Linked DNA regions of Homo sapiens: region 2 is linked to region 1. The links are contacts of gene promoters, found by promoter capture Hi-C in blood cells and fetal thymus (Javierre and others, 2016). All regions are on one chromosome and are shown on one strand. The core of a region is centred on a gene start or on the middle of the fragment in contact, and the rest is flanking DNA. Distances in the headings are between cores, read along the strand shown.

The links. Contacts are between HindIII fragments. The CHiCAGO score rates a contact against its expected background, and 5 or more counts as called.
Region 2: a contact is called between a fragment that was not itself captured here and the fragment with the promoter of NDE1 in region 1, in 1 of 17 cell types (erythroblasts). The highest score is 5.2, in erythroblasts.

The regions. Positions count from the first base shown.
Region 1 is chr16:15,646,577-15,653,546 of GRCh38, forward strand. NDE1 (nudE neurodevelopment protein 1) reads left to right here and starts at 3,669. Exons shown (of 9, transcript NM_017668.3): 1 at 3,669-3,718. RefSeq lists enhancers at 3,370-3,871, 3,872-4,371 and a silencer at 6,736-6,970. The HindIII fragment of the contact is 10,572 bases long and covers 1-6,388 here.
Region 2 is chr16:16,105,813-16,112,782 of GRCh38, forward strand. ABCC1 (ATP binding cassette subfamily C member 1 (ABCC1 blood group)) reads left to right here. Exons shown (of 31, transcript NM_004996.4): 21 at 926-1,061; 22 at 5,563-5,770. Among named protein-coding and RNA genes, the nearest start is that of ABCC6, 110 kb to the right of the region's middle. The HindIII fragment of the contact is 249 bases long and covers 3,451-3,699 here.

The DNA.
Region 1 (6,970 bases), core at 2,419-4,918:
TCAAAAAAAAGAAAAAAAAAATCCAAGGGGGGTTAATACCAGCTACTTGGTAGGCTGAGGCAGGAGAATCGCTTGAACTGGAAGGTGGAGGTTACAATGAGCCGAGATCGCACCACTGCACTCTAGCCTGGGCGACAGAGTGAGATTCCATCTTAATGAATAAGTAAATAAGTAATAAAATTCCTAAGGGGAGGCTTGGTGTGGTGGCTCATGCCTGTAATCCCAGCACTTTTGGAGGCTGAGGCGGGTGGAGCACTTGAGGTCAGGAGTTCAAAACCAGCCTGGCCAACATGGTGAAACCCTGCCTCTACTAAAATAGAAAAATTAGGTGGGCATGGTGGTGAACACCTGTAATCCCAGCTAGTCGAAAGGCTGAGGCAGGAGAATCGCTTGAACCCGGGAGGTGGAGGTTGCAGTGAGCCGAGATTGCAGCACTGCACTCTAGCCTGGGCAACAGAGTGAAACTCTGTCTCGAAATAAAATAAAATTCCAAGGGGGAAGGCATCAGACGTAGTAAAGTGTGAAGCAGCATGTAAATGATTCATTAATGTTTGGGAAGTTTCCTGAAAGACATTTGGTACTTTCCTTAAACCTGTTGATAGGTGGTGGGGTTCCCCTTTGTGCCTCTAAGCAGTTTTTAGGAATTAGCAAGGAGTTCAAAGTAGAATTTGAGAAAGGCTGTTGTAGGATAGCAGGAAGGCAAGATGGGGTGGGAGATCCTGTAATAGCTAAGATCTCTTTGCCTCTAGCATAGTGCTGAAGAAGGAGGGTTTAGGAGTCAGAGCCAGCTCTGAAGCCTGATTTGTTAATTACTAGTTGTAAGACCTCGGACAACTCAATTAACTTCCTGCACCTTTATTTTCTTATCTTTAACATGGATACAATTTAATGCTTTCCTGTGGTTCATCACCTGTGGTTCAGTTGCATGGTCTCCTCTCTACAGTGGCCTTCCCTGACTATAGCATCTGAAGTGACCCCTCCCAGCCCGTTGTATCAAATGGGCTTGCCTTAGTCATAGCACTTATCAGTATCTGAAATGACGTTACTTTTTCTGCTTATAGATTTAGTATGTTTCTCTCTTAACAATATAAGCCCTTTGAGGACAGGTACTTTGTCTGACTGTATTCACTGTGCTGTAAGGGTGCATTGTACAGAAGAATGCTCATAATGCCGGGTGCTGTGGTTCATGCCTATAATCCCAGCACTTTGGGAGGGAGGCTGAGGCAGGAGGATCACTTGAGCCCAGGAGTTCAAGACCAGCCTGGGCAACATAGTGAGATCCACGTCTCTACAAAAAAATGTAAAAATTAGCTGGGCGTGTTGGTGCACACCTGTGGTCCTAGCTACTCCGGAGGATGAGGTGGGAGGATCACTTGAGCCTGGGAGGTCCAGGATGCAGTGAGCTTTGATTATGCCACTGCACTCCAGCCTATGTCACAGGGTGAGACTCTGTCTCACAAAAAAAAAAAAAAGCTGGATAATAATATATATATTTTTAGTTTTTATGGGTACACTGTAGGTGTTTATATTTATGGGGTACATGAGATATTTTGATAACAGGCATGCAATGCATCATAATCACATCAGGGTAAATGGGTGTCCATGACCTCAAGCATTTATCCTTTCTTTGTGTTACAAGCACTCCAATTATACTCCTTTAGTTATTTTAAAATGTACAATACATTGTTGTGGACTGTAGTCACCCTGCTGTGCTCCCAAATACTAGATCTTATTCATTCTAACTCTATTTTTGTACCCACTAACCAGAATGTTCGGTATTTGTTAATGAACATGTTATGACAGGATGTTTTAGAAGAAAATAAAGAAAAAAAGAAATTCCAGCCAAGCATGGTGGCTTGATTTTATTTATTTATTTATTTTGAGATGAAGTCTCCCTCTGTCTCCCAGGCTGGAATGCAGTGGCGTGATCTCCACTCACCGCAACCTCTGCCTTCTGAGTTACATGGCTCACGCCTGTAATCCCAGCACTTTGGGAGACTGAGGTGTATTGCTTGAGGTCAGGAGTTCGAGACCAGCCTGGCCAACACAGTGAAACCGTGTCTCTACTAAAAATACAAAAAATTAGCTGGGCGTAATGGTGGGCGCCTGTAATCCCAGCTACTAGGGAGACTAAGACAAGAAAATCGCTTGAATCTGGGAGGCAGAGGTTGCAGTGAGCCGAGATCGCACCATTGCACGCCAGCCTGGGCAACAAGAGGGAAACTCTGTCTCGAAAAGAAAAAAATTATTTTTTAATTTTAATTTGTTAGTGAACAATTAGGGTTGCTGTGAGAATTGTGCCTGGCACACACAGCCATTTAAAAATCACGATCTTCAGGCAGTGTGTGGTGGCTCACGCCTGTAATCCCAGGACTTTGGGAGGCCGAGGTGGGTGGATCACCTGAGGACAGGGATTCGAGAGCAGCCTGGCCAACATGGTGAAACCCCGTCTCTACTAAAAATATAAAAATTAGCCGGGTGTGGTGATGCGGGCCTGTGATCCCAGCTACTCGGGAGGCTGAAGCAGGAGAATTGCTTGAACTCAGAAGGCAGAGGTTGCAGTGAGTGGAGATCACGCCACTGCATTCCAGCCTGGGAGACAGAGGGAGATTTCATCTCAAAATAAATAAATAAACAAAATCAAGATCATTTAACAAATACATATATTGTACTTACTAAGTTCAAATTTCTGTTCTAAACGTTTTTACAAATGCTGTTAAGTCATTTAGTCCTCTGCATAATGTCGTTTGTTTGTTTGTCTGTTCTTTAAGACGGAGTCTTGCCCTGTCGCCTAGGCTAGAGTGCAGTGGTGTGATCTCGGCTCACTGCAACCGCCACCTCCCGGTTTCCCGTGATTCTCCTGCCTCAGCCTCCTGAGTAGCTGGGATTACAGGTGCGTGCCACCACATCCGGCTAATTTTTTGTATCTTTAGTAGAGACGGGGTTTCACCATGTGCCAGGCTGGTCTTGAACTCCTGACCTCGTGATCCACCCGCCTTGGCCTCCCAAAGTGCTGGGATTACAGGCGTGACCACCGCGCCAGACCCATAATGGCGTTTTATAGATGGGGAAACGGAGTCATAGAGGCTAAACAACTTTCCCAAGACCACACAGTTAGTAAGGGGCAGGACTAGGACTCAAAGCCAAGTTTATGACCAAATTCTGGTGCACTACGTTCTCCTGCTTCTGGAGAAGATAATGATGCTGAAGATTCTACTTTTGGTGTAAAGGAGTAGGAAGGGCACGGGGCACTGCTAGCTTCAGTGGGCCTGAATCTTTGTCTTTCCTTCTGATTTGGAGAAAGTGCAAGAATGGGAAAATGCAATCGAAGTGAAGGAGAGGCCGGCGTATTTTCCTGAAATGCGCGGCCCGCAAGCCCAAACCCGTTTCCCGGGTGTCCAGGCAGCGTTCTGCAGCATCTCCAATGCCCGCCAGCCCGCCGCAGCCCAGCGCCCGGCAGCCGGCGCCTCTCAAACCCCCTCCGGCCAGGAGCCTTCGCCGCTTGGCCGCGCCGCGCCCGGCCTGGGAAAAAAGTTTCCAAACGACGCTGCTCTGCGCTGATTGGCCGAGGCGGACGCGGTACCGTAGAGCAGCAGCCAATGGGAGGCGCCGACCGCAGGCTCCGGGGCGGGGGCGGGGTCCGGAGGGCCGGGGCCGCACCGCCCTTCGCAGCCGCCTCTGCCGCCGCCGCCGCGTTGGCCTCGCCGCCCCTGCTCGGGTAAGTGAGGCGCTGCGCGGGGCTGGGGTCGGGGTGGCTGTCCGGGGACCTCCACCGCGGCTGAAAAGCTCCTCTGCCCCGCCCCAGGATCCCGGGACCCCGGGCCACCGCCTGGCAGGGACCCCTACGCCCCTCGCTTGCGCGTCGCTTCCCGGCCGCCTGGACTCCCCCGGTCCCTGGGCTCCAAAATCCCGCCTCCCTGGAGCCTCCCGTCCTAAAAAGTTAGGCACTGAGTGCCTTGCCACCGGTGCGTTCCTCGCGCTGGCCCCTCGCCCTTGGCAACTTTGTTTCTCTTTCTGCGTTGGTCTCTCTCCCACCCCGTTGCCCTCTTCTCCTTCCGGGACTTCCTGGGTGGTTAAGCCTTGCCGGTCCCCAAACCCCGCTGCCAGGCTCCATCCTCTTTCTCCTCTTCCTTCCTCCCCATACTCCTCTCCTAGATGACCCTCGTTTCTTTTCTCTCTCTCTCCTATTCCTCCATCCTGCCACCCGCTTCTCTGCGACCCCAGACCCCTCGATTGCAGCGTTGCCCCTGCCCTCACACCCACTGTCCCGCCCCTGCAGGCCTCTTTCCAAAAACCCACCCTGCTCCCTCCCTCCGGGAACACGTTTGGGGCAGTCTGCTCTCCGCTTTGCTCCCGTCTCTGCCGCAGGACGGTTCAGGTTTCTTCTGACAGCACTTTGGGGAGGGATTGGGTAAAGGACGAAAATGCTTATTCCGCAGCTTGAGTGATGGCTGGGCTCACTGAGGACCTGAGTCTCTGAGGTCCTGGGAAACCCCGCTGTCACCTTGACACCGCTTTTGGGGAGGCGACTTTATCTTCTCCGAGCCATCTCAGGCTTTCTGCCTCCTGAGGGCCTGAGCTTCCTTGATTGCTTTGTCCGTGGTTACTACCAGGTTGTGCCTCTTAATTTCTACTTTGAGCCTCAGGCCCCTTTTAACTTTCTAAAGAAAAGGCCTTTGCAGCACGACCTAGGCAGGTTCATCATTTTTAGTTTTGTTATAGTGTATTCTAGCATAGGATGGCATTTTAGGACATGGGTCGGGTGTTTTGAAGATTAATTAGATCCCAGCTACTCCTAAAGCCTCTTGTTACCCGACCACCCCAGCCTCCATCACCTCGTTGGTATACAACCCGTTTTTTTTTTTTTTTTTTTGTTTTTGTTTTTGAGACAGAGTCTCACTCTCGCCCAGGTTGGAGTGCAGTGGTGCGATTTTGGCTCACTGCAACCTCCGCTTCCCGGGTTCAAGCGATTCTCCTGCCTCAGCCTCCGGAGTAGCTGGGACTACAGGTGCGTGCCACCACGCCTGGCTAATTTTTTGTATTTTTAGTAGAGATGGGGTTTCACCGTGTTAGCCAGGATGGTCTCGATTTCCTGACCTCGTGATCTGCCCCCTCGGCCTCCCAAAGTGCTGGGATTACAGGCGTGAGCCACCGTGCCGGCCTACAACCCATTTTGAGCCTTTCCTCTTAGTGTGTGTTTTGTGTAGGATTAAATGCAGATGATCTGTGCCGCTGAAGTCTCAGGGGCCTGTGATTCATATATTTTATCCCATGTTGGATAACAGTTTATTAACTTGACTTATTTTTGTTTCCAAAGTGTGTTATTTATTATTTATTTATTTATTTATTTTGAGACGGAGTCTTGTTCTTGTCCAGGCTGGAGTGCAGTGGCATGATCTCGACTCACTGCAACCTCAGTCCTCCGGGTTCAAGTGATTCTTCTGCCTCACCCTCCTGAGTAGCTGGGATTACAGGTGCGTGCCACCATGCCCGGCTAATTCTTAGTAGAGATGGGGTTTCACCATATTGGCCAGGCTGGTCTCAAACTTCTGACCTCGTGATCTGCCCACCTCAGCCTCCCAAAGTGTTGGGATTACAGGCATGAGCCACTGCACCCGACTCTATCATTATTATTATTTTTTATGTAGAGGCAGAATCTTGCTTTGTTGCCCAGGCTGGTCTCAAATTCCTGGGCTCAAGCAGTCCTCCTGCCTTGGCCTCCCACAGTGCTGAGATTACTTGCAGGCATGAGCCACTGCATGCAGCCCAAAGTGTGTTCTTTTGCCTTAGAATGTGAGCCGAGAATTGACACTCCTTTTCCTCACAAGGTAATTTCCTAACATGAGCATTCCTGTGTACAGAAAGTTTGTGCCTGCAGTTAGTACTACACGTGCACCTCGTGCAATGGATGTGGGTGCTTTTTGTCTGCCTCCTTCAGCAGTGCCCAGCACTTAGTAGGTATTCAAGAAATGTTTGAAAAGGGTTGGAGGAGGCAAAACCACAGTAGGAAAAATTCTTTCCCTGTCACTTGGTTCAGTAGAATAAAATTATCCTGGAACAATAGCTATTTTACTTTTTGTCCAAGTTTTTGTTTGTTTGTTTTTTGAGACGGGATCTCACTCTGTCGCCCAAGCTGGAACACAGTGATGCAATCACAGCTCACTGCAGTCTCGACCTCTCAGGCTCAAGCAATCCTCTTGCCTGAGCCTCCCAAGTAGCTGGGACTAAAAGCACATGCCACCATGCTTGGCTAATTTTTAAAATTTTTTGTAGAGATTGGGGTCTCACTATGTTGCCCAGGCTGGTCTCGAACTCCTGGGTTCAAGCGATCCTTCCGCCTCAGCCTCCCAACGTGCCGGGGTGGGAGAGAGCCACCGCGCCTGGCCTAAGCTTTTTAAAATCTCTAAAGCGATCTATGCTTACTGTATATATGTGTATGTAGTTTACCTTAAAGCAAGGTGTCAGGTACAAATCCACAGGGCTTGCTTTACCCCCATTCTGGTGCATCCTCCAGACCCTTTTCTATTCTGTGTACAGAGAGAGGGAAATAAACAAAAATGGGCACCCATTTTTAACATATCCTGAGCTTTCTTCCATATTAGTACTTACAGTTCTTAACAACTGCATCGTTTTCCATTCAGTCCTCTGTTGACATTGAGGTTTCCAGTTTTCCACATTCGTGAATGATGGTGTGCATCTTTGAACATGGGTCCTTGCCTGCCTAAGTATTTTTGTAGGTTGATCATTGTAAACTTGGAAAGCACAAAGACAGAAGCCAGGCTTGCTGACTCTTGACTGATGTTGCCCCAGTGATGTCACTCCTGCAAAATGCAAAGCCTGCGTCCTGGCTGTCGGAGCATGTGTGGACATTTGGCAGCTTCTTTCTCTTCCCTCCTGCTCTTCTGTTTGTTTTGATTGGGAAGGATATGGAGTGGGGATGGAGAAGGGTGTTGAGTAATTATCGATGGTT
Region 2 (6,970 bases), core at 2,325-4,824, 460 kb after region 1:
GACGCAATCTGTGATCATCTCTGGGGGTCTGCATAAAGCTCATGACCACTGATGTGCGAAAAGTGCTTTTTTTTTTTTTTTTGAGACAGGGTCTTACTCAGTCGCTGAGGCTGGAGTGCAGTGGTGCAATCACGGCTCACTGCAATTTCTGCCTCTGGGATTCAAGCGATTCTCCTGCCTCAACCTCCCAAGTAGTTGGGACTGCAGGTGCACGGTACCACGCCTGGCTAATTTTTGTATTTTTAGTAGAGACGGGGTTTCACCGTGTTGGCCAGGCTAGTCTTGAACTCCTGGCCTCAAGTGATCCGCCCACCTCGGCCTCCCAAAGTGCTGGGATTACAGGTGTGAGCCACTGCACCTGGCCAAATAATGCTTTCTGAGTAACACGCTTGCATGAAGGAGCAGTCAGGCAAGATCCCACCCCAGTGCCCACCACATTTGTAAAACAAGAAAATCGAACTAGCTGGGTACTTTGCCCTATGTTTTTCATCATATGTTACATTTTGAATCTTTTTCATGTTTGAAAAATGATCTACGATGTGCCCTTTCTGTTATATCTTTTATTGGCTTTTTTTTTTTTGAGATGAATTCTAATTGATCTCAGAAAAAAAAAAAAAAAGCACGCACTTTTTATATACCAGTTGTCATGGGCTTTTTGCAGGCCCCCAGAGATCATCACAGATTGCGTTTCCCATGGGTCTCATTCCTGCCTGAGACACTGCCTTTCTCTGGGTACCTATAAACCTGGAGAGTGACATGGTGGGGTGTGGTGCATATATTCATATATATGTTTACATGTGTGCATGTGGAAACACTCCGTCTCTTATGCCATGGTTCAGACCCACAATAGCAGTCCCAGCAGGGAGCCCTCCGACCCTGCCCAAGGCATCTGTACGGTTGACACCCTTGTGCTTTGCTTCTCCAGACAGCTCAGCAGCTCCTCCTCCTATAGTGGGGACATCAGCAGGCACCACAACAGCACCGCAGAACTGCAGAAAGCTGAGGCCAAGAAGGAGGAGACCTGGAAGCTGATGGAGGCTGACAAGGCGCAGACAGGGCAGGTGAGATTCGCTCCTTAAGTGATGACAGTGGCTGGAGTTTATAGAGCGCCCACTGTGCACTGGGCACTGTGCAAAGTGCCTTGTCTATGTTAACTCACCTGTCCATCACAACACACCTGTGAAGATACTATTTGCAGCACCAGAAACTGAGGCCAGAGAGGCTAAGTGACTTACTCACGGTCACCCCTGGTCAGCGGCAGAACTGGGATTTGAACCCTGGCCAACTCCAGGGTTAGTACTTGTAGTCTCTGCTCTATTGACTGCCTGAGCAGCTCAGGGGGGTCTCATTCGCTAGAGGTGAGCTGGATGCTTTAAATCAGGGCTTCCTGCAACGTGGGGTTCAGTTGTGCATGAGATGGTGTCCGGTTGTGCACAGACGCATTAAATGACAGAGGAATGTTTGTTTCATTTCTTTTTTTAATTTTTATTTTTTTGAGATGGAGTCTCACTCTGTCACCAAGGCTGGAGTGCAGTGGTGCGATCTCGGCTCACTACAACCTCTGCCTCCTGGGTTCAAGCAGTTTTCCTGCCTCAGCCTCCTGAGTAGCTGGGATTACAGAAACTTGCTACCTTGCCCAGCTAATTTTTGTATTTTTAGTAGAGACAGGGTTTCACCATGTTGGCCAGGCTGGTCTTGAACTCCTGACCTCAGGTGATCCACCCACCTTGGCCTCCCAAAATGCTGGGATTACAGGGGTGAGCACCGCGTCCTGCCTGTTTTTCATTTCTCATTTGGTCCTAATGATTACGTCCCTGAGAAAGTCCCAGTTGGGTCCTACCCTGCCTTCTCAACCTATCAACCACTATCCTCTCTTTGTAACAAGGAGACCGGGTTTTGAGCTCCTGTTTTATTGTTTTTAAAGATCGTCTATTTTGGGCAAGTGTTAATAATTCTCCATTTATGGTGGTGATCCAAAGTTTATTTTTAAAAATAAATGTGGTTTTTTTTGTTTTTGTTTTTAAAGGGAATGGAATTTTTAAAGTAGGTAAAAAATAAGCATGCAGATAAAGAAAAACAAAAAAAAAAACATGAAAGGTGGTAGCCGGGGAGTGGGGCTGGGGCACTTTCTCTTAGATCTGCCCGGATGTGTCCAGAGCTTCCGAGGACTGTCTGTTCCTGGCTTCTTCCTTAACTTGTCATCAGAGTCAGGACCGTAACAAGGGGCAGAGGTGACTCTGGTGTCCTCTCTCGCCTTACCCTTAGTGACCCTCCAGGAAGCCAGAGAAGTTACCCCAAATCGCAGGACATGGGAAGGAAGGGCCAGAGATGCCAGGCCCATTTAATCCTCATTTAACTCCAATTTTATATTCAAGGAACATCAAAGCCAGGGGGCTTGTTACTTGTCAAAGTTGGACCCAGAGTGGAGCCAGGCACAACACGCTTATCGTTTCTTTGTGTCTTTTTTTTTTTTTTTTTTTTTTTTGAGACGAAGTCCTGCTGTGTTGCCCAGGCTGTAGTGCCGTGGCGCTCACCGCAACCTCCGCCTCCCGGGTTCAAGCAATTTACCTGCCTCAGCCTCCCGAGTAGCTGGGACTACAGGCCTGCGCCACCATGCCTAGCTAATTTTTGTATTTTCGGTAGAGATGGCGTTTCACTATGTTGGCCAGGCTGGTCTCAAACTCCTGACCTTGTGATCTGCCTGCCTCAGCCTCCCAAAGAGCTGGTGCTGGGATTATAGGCATGAGCCACTGCGCCCGGCCTTTTTTTTTTTTTTAATTTGTTTTCTTTTTTTTTTTTCTGAGACAAGGTCTGACTCTGTCACCCAGGATGGAGTGCAGTGGCACAATCATGGCTAACTGCAGCCTCCACCTCCCGGATTCAAGTGATTCTCCCACCTCAGCCTTCCAAGTAGCTGTGACTACATGTGTGCACCCCCACGCTTGACTAATTTTTTTAATTTTTTTGTGGAGATGAGGTTTCGCCCTGTCGCCCAGACTGGTCTTGAGCTCCTGGGCTCAAGTGACTGGCCCGCCTCCCAAAGTACTGGGATTACAGATGTGAGCCACCACACCTGGCCACACACTTGTCATTTCTGACCCCCGAGCCCACCACATTCCACTACTCATGAGAAAGAGGTTCCTGAACGCTGCAGGCTAATTTCAGGGACAGCAGGCAACTTGGCCGCATGACAAAGCCAAGTGGTGAAATAAACACATTCTTAATTATGACCTGTCTCCTCACCCACATTTTTCATTTTCCAGAATGGGGACTTGAAAACTCAAAAGGAAGCAGCCAGTTACACATCAGACCTGTTATCTTTCACCTGTTACCTTTCAGCTAGACCGTAGGGTCAGATGATTTTTGTTTTTTTTTCTGGTGAGGGGCAGAGCCTCACTGTGTCGCTCAGGCTGGAGTGCAGTGGTGTGACCAACGCTCACTGCAGCCTTAAGCTTCTGGGTTCAAGAGCTCCTCCTAGCTCAGCTTCCTGAGTAGCTGGGACTATAGGTGTGGACCACCACACCTAGCTAATTTTAAAATTTTTTGTAGAGACAGGGTCTTACTGTGTTTCCCAGGCTGGTCTCAAACTCCTGGGCTCAAGTCATTGTCCTGCCTTGGCCTCCCAAAGTGCTGGCATTATAGGTGTGAGCCACCGCACCCAGTCCAGATGATTTTCATGACCCAAAATTCAGCATGAAAAGCTTGAAATGACAATGAGCACAGACACGGGTAAAGATCCCTGGAATTTCTTGAAACCAAGTCAGGTGGTTTAGGTGGGGGCTGGCCTAAAGCAGATTGCCCTGTCTCTCATGTCAGGCGGCTAGACACATTTGTTTAGCCCCATGCTGGGCTCCACAGGGAATATAGGAGGGAAAGAAACTCCAACCTTCACCTCCTGGAGCGAACTGGGCACTGGGAAGATGGGTGAGATGGTATTCTGTGCTCAGAGTGAAAAGAGTTGGAGGAGGCTGGCCCAGTTGTGGTGTTGAGGTGACATTTGGCCTTGGTTGCCAGGCAACATGTCACACGTTGCTTAAAACTCATTGGTGGCTTCTGCTTTCTGTCAGTCTTGGCTAAAAGTTGGAATCCTGACCCGAGTCTCCCATGCCATGTGTGGTCTGACTGCGACCGGTTTTTCCAGCCTCTTGTTCCTTGCTGCCCCATGATCTCCTGGCTCCAGCCACCAGTGCCTTCTCTCAGTTCCCCAGATGCACTGTGTTCCCTCCTACCTCAGGGCCTTTGCACATGCTGGTTCTGCCACCTTTTTTCCATTTTCAGCTGGTTTAACTCCTTTTTTTTTTTTTCCCCCTGGAGGCAATGTCTCCCTCTGTCACCCAGGCTGGTGTGCAGTAAGTTTGGCTTGGTGCAACCTCCACCTCCTGGCTTCAAGCGACCCTTGTGCCTCAGCCTACAGGCATGTGCCCCCACGCCTGACTAATTTTTGTATTTTTTGTAGAGGTGAGATTTCATCATGTTGGCCAGGCTGGTCTCGGATTCCTGACCTCAGGTGATCCACTTGCCGCAGCCCCTCAAAGTGCTGGGATTACAGGTGTGTGAGCCACGATGCCCAGCACTCTTTATTTTTTTTTATTTTTTAGAGACAGTCTCACTCTGTCACCCACGCTGGAGTGCAGTGGCGCATTCTCGGCTCACTGTAACCTCCGCCTACTGGGTTCAAGCCATTCTCTTGCCTCAGCCTCCCGAGTAGCTGAGATGACATGTGCCTACCACCATGCCCAGCTAATTTTTGTATTTTAGTAGGCAAGGGGTTTCGCCATGTTAGTCAGGCTGGTCTCAAACTCCTGACCTCAGGTAATCCACCCGCCTCGGCCTACCGACGTGCTGGGATCACAGGCATGAGCCACTGCACCCAGCCTTGGTTTAACTCTTTAATGTCACTTCCTCGAAGAAAACCTCCCCCAATACCTCTCTAGACTGCATTAGGTCAGGTTGTCTGATTTTATACTCACGTGGAATTGTGCACCGTTTACAGCCCTTCTCTGTGATGACGCATTTATCTGGGATGATTTTATGGGAGCCTATCTCACCACGCGACTGGAAGCTCCATGCATGAGGGCAGAGACCCTGAGTTTGTCTCTTTTTTTTGAGACGGAGTCTCACTCTGTCGCCCAGGCTGGAGTGCAGTGGGGCAATCTTGGCTCACTGCTTCTACCTCTGCCTCCTGGGTTCGAGGAATTCTGCCTCGGCCTTCCAATTAGCTGGGATTACAGATGCCGACCACACACCCGGCTAACTTTATATTTTTAATAGAGGCAGGATTTTGCCATATTGGCCAGGCTGGTCTCGAAGTCTCTACCTCAGTTGATCTGCCCGCCTCAGCCTCCCAAAATGTTGGGATTACAGGTGTGAGCCACGGCGCCTGGCCCTCGACTTTGTTTACTGCTGACTTTGTTGAATAGCTAAAGGGGAGGGGTGTTCTACGTAGGAGCAAAGGCAGGCAGCTGGGTGGCACAGTGCTGGTGAAGCCCCCGACCTTGTGGGGCTGGGGCTGGGGCTGGGTGCGTGCATGTGCTAAGCTGCCTTATCTCCTGTGATCTCCAGGTCAAGCTTTCCGTGTACTGGGACTACATGAAGGCCATCGGACTCTTCATCTCCTTCCTCAGCATCTTCCTTTTCATGTGTAACCATGTGTCCGCGCTGGCTTCCAACTATTGGCTCAGCCTCTGGACTGATGACCCCATCGTCAACGGGACTCAGGAGCACACGAAAGTCCGGCTGAGCGTCTATGGAGCCCTGGGCATTTCACAAGGTTGGTGCCGCTGTCTCCCACCCCGCCTGATTTGGGCCCCTGTTGTGGCTTTGTCTAATTATAGAAATGGATCCTTAGAGTCCTCAGCGTTTTGTGGGACCCCAAACCAAGCCAAACCCAGAAAAATGGTAGCTGTCAGCTAGTAGACACTCAGATATTTGTAGAGTGGGTGTTTGAGTGCTTTGTTCATATGGGCCTTGGTGGTAGACGGGAGGAGTGCTCCAGTGTGCCCATTTTACAGATGAGGACAGTTGAGAACAGAGGCCTCTGGAAGCACTGAGGGTTGGGAGGACCCCCTTGAGCATGTTTGCTTTGTCACAGTGACAGAGCTTCCATGAGGTCTCATTTGCGGACTTTTGCCTGCTGAGTGAGGGCGGAAATTGGCTTATACTAGTAATTCCCAATTATGGGCAGTGTTGTCCCTCAGGGATGTTTGACAATATCTGGAGATGCTTTTGGTTGTCAAAAGATTGAGAAACCCTGCTGTTGGCCAGGCATGGTGGCTCACACCTGTAATCCCACACTTTGGGAGGCTGAAGTCAAAGGATTGCTTGAGGCCAGATATTCGAGACCAGCCTGGGCAACATAGTGAGACCCTATTTCTAGAAAAAATAGATAAATAAAATAAACTACAGGTCACGTGGTGGTATGCGCTTGTGGTCTCAGCTACTTGGGCAGCTGAGGTCACAAGATTGCTTGAGCCCAGGAGTTTGAGCCTACAGTTAGACCTATGATTGCACCACTGCCCTCCAGCCTGGGTGACAGAGCAAGACCCTGTCTCAAAAAATAAACAAAAAAAAAAAAACCCTGCTCTATACTGTTCTGTGTGGTCCTATGGGAGTCCTCAAATGCAGCAGCGTTGATATTAACAGCTGGCATTTACTGAGCATTTACTTGGTGCTTGGATTTGTTCTAAACACTTCCACGTGTTTTAACTTATTTTATCCTTGCAGCAGTCCTGTGAGGTAGGAGTTAATATTTCCCTCATTTTGGAGATACAGAAACTGAGGCCCGGAGAGGTTGAGTCAGTTGCCAAAAGTCACACAGCTAATACATGGCAGCATTGGCATTGAACAAGGCAGTCTGGCTCAGGAGCTCACGCTGTTATCCACTGTGCTACGCAGTATGTGAGCCATGTTTGCAAATACACATGTATGGTCCATATGATATATACACAGTAAATGGATAGTCTTGACACAT